2 separate regions of the Homo sapiens genome follow, and region 2 is linked to region 1. Evidence: promoter capture Hi-C in 16 types of primary human blood cells and fetal thymus (Javierre and others, 2016). All regions are on one chromosome and are shown on one strand. The core of a region is centred on a gene start or on the middle of the fragment in contact, and the rest is flanking DNA. Distances in the headings are between cores, read along the strand shown.

The links. The method cuts DNA at HindIII sites, captures the fragments that hold promoters and counts their contacts. A CHiCAGO score of 5 or more calls a contact.
Region 2: a fragment that was not itself captured here is called in contact with the fragment with the promoter of EGFLAM-AS5 in region 1 in 1 of 17 cell types (endothelial precursors); the score reaches 5.0 in endothelial precursors.

Annotation. Positions count from the first base shown.
Region 1 is chr5:38,466,570-38,469,926 of GRCh38, forward strand. It overlaps EGFLAM-AS5 (EGFLAM antisense RNA 5), which reads right to left and starts at 1,797. Exons shown (of 2, transcript NR_199676.1): 1 at 1,670-1,797. RefSeq lists enhancers at 1-896, 2,264-3,135. The HindIII fragment of the contact is 4,194 bases long and covers 1,081-3,357 here.
Region 2 is chr5:38,661,542-38,664,898 of GRCh38, forward strand. The region is part of intron 8 of LIFR-AS1 (LIFR antisense RNA 1); the gene reads left to right. Among named protein-coding and RNA genes, the nearest start is that of LINC01265, 57 kb to the right of the region's middle. The HindIII fragment of the contact is 2,551 bases long and covers 523-3,073 here.

The DNA.
Region 1 (3,357 bases), core at 547-3,046:
GGTGGAGGGCATGGACTCAGGAGCAGTGGAAAAGCGTCACTGCTGATGCAATCGGTCTACCCCAGCAAGTCCTACGTCATTCACAGCAGGGTGCAGTAGGGAGGCCGTGACCCCCTGGCCATAGGTCTTCTCCGACCTTCTTTAACCCTTGGGGCTGGAGGCGAGGTCCATGATGTTCTCAGTGCCCAGCCAGGCCAGGCCTGATGCGAGCAGCACCCGCCCTCCCCCATCGCAATGCGGTGCCCTCTCTTCCCCTTGCCCTCCTTCCACATGCTCCCTGACACTTGGCAGCTGGCCCCGTTGCTGTTCTGAGGAGGAGGGACTGGACCGGCTGGAAGATGGGATCTGTGCCTGGCTTTTGGGTAGCCGCTGTGGGGAGAGCATGTTGAAGGCTGGCCAGGCTCTTGGCTGAAGAGAAAGGTTTGGGGTGTCGCCAGGGAGCTCAGAGGCTAACAGCAGTCCCTGTCCTAGGGAGGAAGGATGGAGTGGGGCACGGGATCCTGAAAAGCTTTTCTCCCACAATCAGGGTCTGAGGAAATTCCCCGGAACCTCCCACATGTTCGAAGCAAGGGTGACCGGGTGTGGGGTGAGGATGTCCTTGCTTTTCCTATTAAGATGGCCTCCCATAACCCTGCATGTTCCTGGAGGCCCCACCTCAGGATTTCTCTCAGGAAGGTCTGTGGGGGTCTTCTGTGTCCCCCTTCTGCGGCTGCCCAGGCAGCTGCCCCGGCCTGCCCGCCGCTCTGAAGGCCGTGCCACTCTCCCACCCTGGTATTTGTCTTTCATTTCCTGACCCAGTCCTGCTCCCTTCTCCCGGCCCTCCAACACAAACAGGCCGGCTGGTGTCCACACACAGACTGCCCTGCTGGCACGGGCACTGGCGCTTTCCTGCTGCTGCCCCCTCTCCTTCCTCCCTGCCCACCTCCTCCCCTGGCCCTGCAGGAGCTGCTACCCCCTCCCTGCGTGGGAGGAAGGAGCTCGGAAAAGCGCCCGGAGTTGGAGCTGGCAGGCCCAGGGCTTTCCACTTGGAGGAAACGCTGCATTTTTCACCTTTAACCCAGAAAAATATGGTTCTCAGAAAGCTTGTTTTTAGCACTGTGAGTTCCCAAAGGAGGAAGAATAGGCAGTAGGGGGGCCCCCAGCCTCTCTGAGCTCCGACAGCAACCCCCACCCCAGAAGGCCGTTCTTCCTGGGAGGGAATGACCGAGGGGCAGCCTGCAGAGGCCCAGCTCCGAGAAAATAAAGGCAGAGAATTCCAGCTCCAAGCGGAAAGACAATACTTTAGGAGAGGAGCCTGGACAAGGCATGAGCCGCTTCCCACCTCCTCCCTGCCTCTTCCAGCTCCTGCCCAGTCCAGGAACGCATAGTAGTTGCCCTTGGAGCTGGGGGTCAGTCCGGGCGTGCCCACCACCGCCCAGACCCTTAGCTGAGAAGGGGGTAAGATTAGCTTATCAAAGGCGGGAACGACGTTCTCCAGCACTTTCTCCCTGCAGTGGGGAGAGAGCTGCCAGCATGGAATCAAAATTAGAATCTGAAATCAGGGGTCGTACAGCTTTAGCCCACTCCCACGTTATTTGTCAACATGGAGATGTGGGTCGTCCGACGGTATCCGAACTAGGGACTTATCCGGCACACGCTAAACAGAGAAGGGAAATGTAAGCAGCCCTACCTCAACCATTGTGAGGCCAGAAGTCCCAGGGCTGCCGGCATTTAAGCTGGTGGGTCCCGTGGAAGTGACAGGCTGCCGTAAGGAAGTTCCAGCTTACAGGTGGCTATGTTCGGGCCAGCAAAATGACTAATCCAATGCAACAGCATCAGCTGGCTTCTGGGCTAGGCCCTGTGAGTAACCGCACCGCAACCTCACAGTCAAAGAATGTTCACATATTTGATCTTCATAACAGTCCTCCTCCTATGATGGCTGGAGCAGATGGGCATGGCCTATTTGACTTAGGAAGACAGACACTGGCCACAAAGACTGGGTGACTTGCCCATGGTCCCATCACGAGGACGCAGCCACGATGCTGTCCCGTGGAGCTTTTCTGCCCTCACCCTGACCTCTGGTCAGGTGCAGTCTGCCCAGGGACACCCGCATTGTTGAGGGACATTCTGAGGCTCCCTTGGGTTAGCTGTCGTCTGCAGTATAGTCGTGTAAGTGAGGGAGATTCGGACAAAGGCCATGTCCCAAGAGTCTGCTTGCCAACGCATGCCAGTTTCTCATCACAGCCCTGAATCTGCCTTCTTTCAAAGGCCTTCTGTTGCAGGGACTCTGGGTTGAGCAAATCTGAAAGCAGAAACTAAAGAGCTAGTCCAGCAGGGTGGGATTCAGGCCCCTCTACGGGCAACTGGGTGTAGGTTAAATTCTTTTCCCTTCCCTCCTTTGCTTTCATCTCCACAAATAACCTCCATAACCCTGGGGAGTGGTTGCAAGCTATTTCTGCCCAGCAGCGTGTTCCCCTGGGCCCCTGCCTCGCCCCAGCCAAGCCACGAGCTGAAAGAACAGGGAAGGCAGCTGGGAAAGGCCTCCCCTGCCGCTCCTCTTCTTCCCGCTTGCTCTTGCTGAGGCATCTTTGTCCTAGAAAGTTCGTAGCTCCCAGGAGCACTTGCCATTTCCTGGAAAGACGGGAGAGAGAACATTATGTCTCAGCCCCTGGGAGGATGTCTCTTCTTTTCTATTTATCCATCTTGTCTTTCAGTTTTGCTCAAGATGCAAATGGTGTCCAGAGGCATAGAAATTTCCCAGCATGTGGCATGGCCTCCCCCGATGTCCCAGCTGCTCACCTACAAGCCAGGGCCCAGCCCGGGGCTATGACCTCCCCGAACAGCCTGCTGCCAAGGGGCTGCAGTTCTGACTTGGCTAGGAGAGGACTTGAGTTGGAATGTCTCTTCGAAGGAAGGCCAGGGAGGCTCAAGAAATTTGCCGTTTATACTCACTTAATAACAAAAGTAAGAGGCACCAGGCCAGGGGCTTAGCTAAGGAAAGCCCTGTTAGGAAATTGGCCAAAAGAAAGCGGAGGCAGAGAAAATGGACTATGAGGCAGAGAGAGCTGTGGGAGGAGAGGGGTATGGGGCCGCAGGGGTCGCAAGGCTCAGTGCGTGGTGACTTCCGGCCCTGCCGGTAGCATTCCATGTTCTCACTGAACGTGGGGTTCAGAGAGCAACTGTGGGGGTTCAGAATGAAATGGGGGGCCCTGTCTAATACAGTGGAAAGTGGAACACAAGCCGATTGCTTGTCCAGGTCACATTCACACCACCTCAGAAATGAAAGAAGCCTGGGCGATCTCTGTTCCAGCTCCACACGGGGCTAGAGAGGTAAGAGGATGTGCCCAAGGCTGGGGGCCTTATCCATGTGACTGCCTC
Region 2 (3,357 bases), core at 548-3,047, 190 kb after region 1:
TGTGGTCCCACTCCCTGGAGCACTGCAGACAAGAACCTAGGTGACAAGAAAAAAATGGAATGACCCCAATTTAACAAGCTCCCCTCTACATTTACAGGGCAAACCGTGACTTTTCTCAAGGCCCACAAATTATAGGGAGGCAAAGGGTGGAAAAATCCAGGAAAAAAAAAAAAAAACAACCATACCACCCATACAAACATACCAGATGGAAGGAAAAGATGCCTATAATTCTCGTGGCTTTCAAAGGTATTTATTTAGTTCAGATATTTATGAAACAAACCCTAGAAATTCCAGGTATCTCTCCTAAACAAAAGAACCACGAATGTTTGCTTCTGGTCAGCATGAAAAATTGGTGAAAAACTAGATGTTAGACATAGGTTCATAAGGTAGATCTTTACAGCTCAGATACAGAGCACTGCAGGCACGTTTTCTTACCTAGTTGTCCAAGTCAGCATCAAACTCAGAGTCACCAATGACTCTGACAATGTTCAGGAGATGCTTTTCCTACTGATGTCAAGGGCAAGCTTCCTCCACAACAGCCATACACAAAAAAAGAAGTAAAGATAATTATTCAAATCATGGCACTGCTAAGATTTTCTAACTGATCTGAGCCCCCCAAAGAAATCCTGATTCGGACTATCTGGATTTTACAATGTTATCAGTCGTCAACAGACTTTGCCTTCCTTGAAAGTGCTTCCAATTGTTTCAGTGGCTAAAGGGACCTAAATCAACACTGGCTATAGCAAAGAAAACAAACCACTTATAAACTTTCCCATACCTGCCAAAACTGGAAAGCTATAAATAGGGGGTAGCAAACACTGTTCAAAAATATTTCTCAGGGAGCAAACAGGCGGAAAGGAGTGAATAATTTTCAAAGAAGTAAAGGATTTTTTTTTTTAAAGTTCATTTTGCAACTTGGAATTTCTGCGGCCACAAGGAAGTGAGGAAAACATAACTCAACCGTGATAATATGATTCCTAATGTTATAAGAAGCTAAAATGTTGTGTATGATTTAAGCAATTCCATTGCACACTATATTGATATAGTGTTTCATTATTCTTTGTTATTCCTCTTATTGCTTCTGGGAGAGGCAGGGCTTTTTCAGGATCATTAGCCCTTTCGTACCTTCCTGAAGATAGGCTCATTTTTCCCAAGAGAAAGTTCAGTTTGTCAAGGTTATTTAACATCTGAGCCAGAGCTGAGATTCAAATCCAAAGTTCCATTTCTGTATTCATTTGCACAATAATTTCTTTAATCATGGACTTTGTTATTAAAGCATTTAACTCTACTGTTAAGTGCTCACTGTTGTTCTAAGGAACAGAAAGAAATCTTTGGAGCTGAACAATCTTAAGTTTGAATCTTGTTTCTGCCCTTGCTCATGGTGTGACCTAGAACAAGGGCTTACACTCTCCCTGCCTTGGTTATTCTGGAAGTGGCGCATGCAGCTCCCTTCTTAGAACCTTATGATTAGTTGGTCTGGCAACTGATTCAATGATTAAAAATAAATCAAGTTAGAAAAAAATTCTGAGGGGATAAAATTGTGTCTTTAGTTTACAGAATCCTACCACAGCACGTAATTTCCTCTTTTATAAGTTGAAAATTAAATGAAAGTGTATGTGAAGTGCTTAACATAATGTTTGGCAATAGCAAGTAAGTATTTAATAAATGCTGTAGCTATTTTCAATAATAATAAACACCCTCTGATTAGAATGACAGATAAATCATTTCCTAGATTAAAATGACTTCATTTATATGTGCATATATGAATATCAAATGATAATAAATGGTATACATATGCAAATGAGATCATTCTTCTGATGGACTATTTGATCCAAGAATGTTCGTGAAGCCATGAACTTCATCTTCCTCTTCCATGGCACAGCCTTGGCAACCCCACTTCAAAATAGATGCTTTGTTCATTCCCTCAGCTAGTTTCCTTCCTTCTGTTTGTAATATGAAACATTGCTTTTTGGCTTCTGACCCTGTGAAGGAGGAGAAGACCACAAAGCCAAGAGTATTTGCAGCCTGGAATTAAATGCTGAGGTGGCCCTGGCCTTACATGTGCAACACCTGGGCCTTGCTGAGGTAACCAAAGGACTTGTCACTATTTAAGATGCCCTTCAAAGTCCAAAAGAAATTTAGCAGGACAAAGGACTGACAAACCCCAGCATGTTGTTGAGTTGTTTCCTTACTTTTGAAGGGCATTTTTGGAAACATGTTGTGGTGGCTCACGCCTGTAATCCCAGCACTTTGGGAGGCCGAGGCAGGCGGATCATGAGGTCAAGAGATCGAGACCATCCTGGCCAACATGGTGAAACCCCGTCTCTACTAAAAATACAAAAATTAGCTGGGAATGGTGGCGCGCCTGAAATCCCAGCTACTTGGGAGGCTGAGGCAGGAGAATCGCTTGAACTGGAGAGGCAGAGGTTGCAGTGAGCCAAGATCATGCCACTGCACTACAGCCTGGCTACAGAGCAAGACTCCATCTCAAAAAAAAAAAAAAATGTATTGTGTATGGTCCACTTATATGTACGTTCACTAGATATGGGTGGTTTGTTGTTTGTTTTGAGATGGAGTTTCACTCTTGTCACCCAGGCTGGAGTGCAATGGCACCATCTCCACTCGCTGCAACCTCTGCCTCCTGGGTTCAAGCGATTCTCCAGCCTCAGCCTCCCAAGTAGGTGGGATTACAGGCGCCCGCCATCATGCCCAGCTAATTTTTGTATTTTTAGTAGAAATGAGGTTTCACCATGTTGGCCAGGCTGGTCTCGAACTCCTGACCTCAGGAGATTTGCCCACCTCAGCCTCCCAAAGTGCTGGGATTATAGGTGTCAGCCACTGCACCCAGCCAATATGGGTGGTTTGAATGTTGTTTTTTTCATCCTTTCTTGTCTCAAGATCTGTAAGTCCCAGAAAAGCATGGCTGGAAGGTCTTGCTGTTATTGGAGGTGCTGCTCTCTAAAGGAGATGGGTAAGAAGTTGTGTTAATTTGGGACCTCTAAGAAGCAGATCCTAAAATGAGATTAAACATGCAAGGACTGAATAGGCTGGGAGAGCCATCGACTGCAATGCAAGCTTAGCAGGGAAAGAAGATTGTTGGAAGCTCCTGAGATGGCCTTGAAGCCTATAAAGACTCACTCAGACCATCAGGCAGTCCTTGAGTAAAAGTCAGCTGTCAGAAGAGGCCTATGTCAGCCAGGAACAGGCAAGCCTACCTTGTCATCCCTGCCAAGTAGAGTCATTGGTGTGAATAGCTTAGAGAAAGTGTGAGCTTAGTGCAAACAATGAGCTGAATCTCAGATGGCATCAGCTAGAGTCAGTTTTGCTCGCTGTAGTTGATGGTTTGTGAAGTGGATT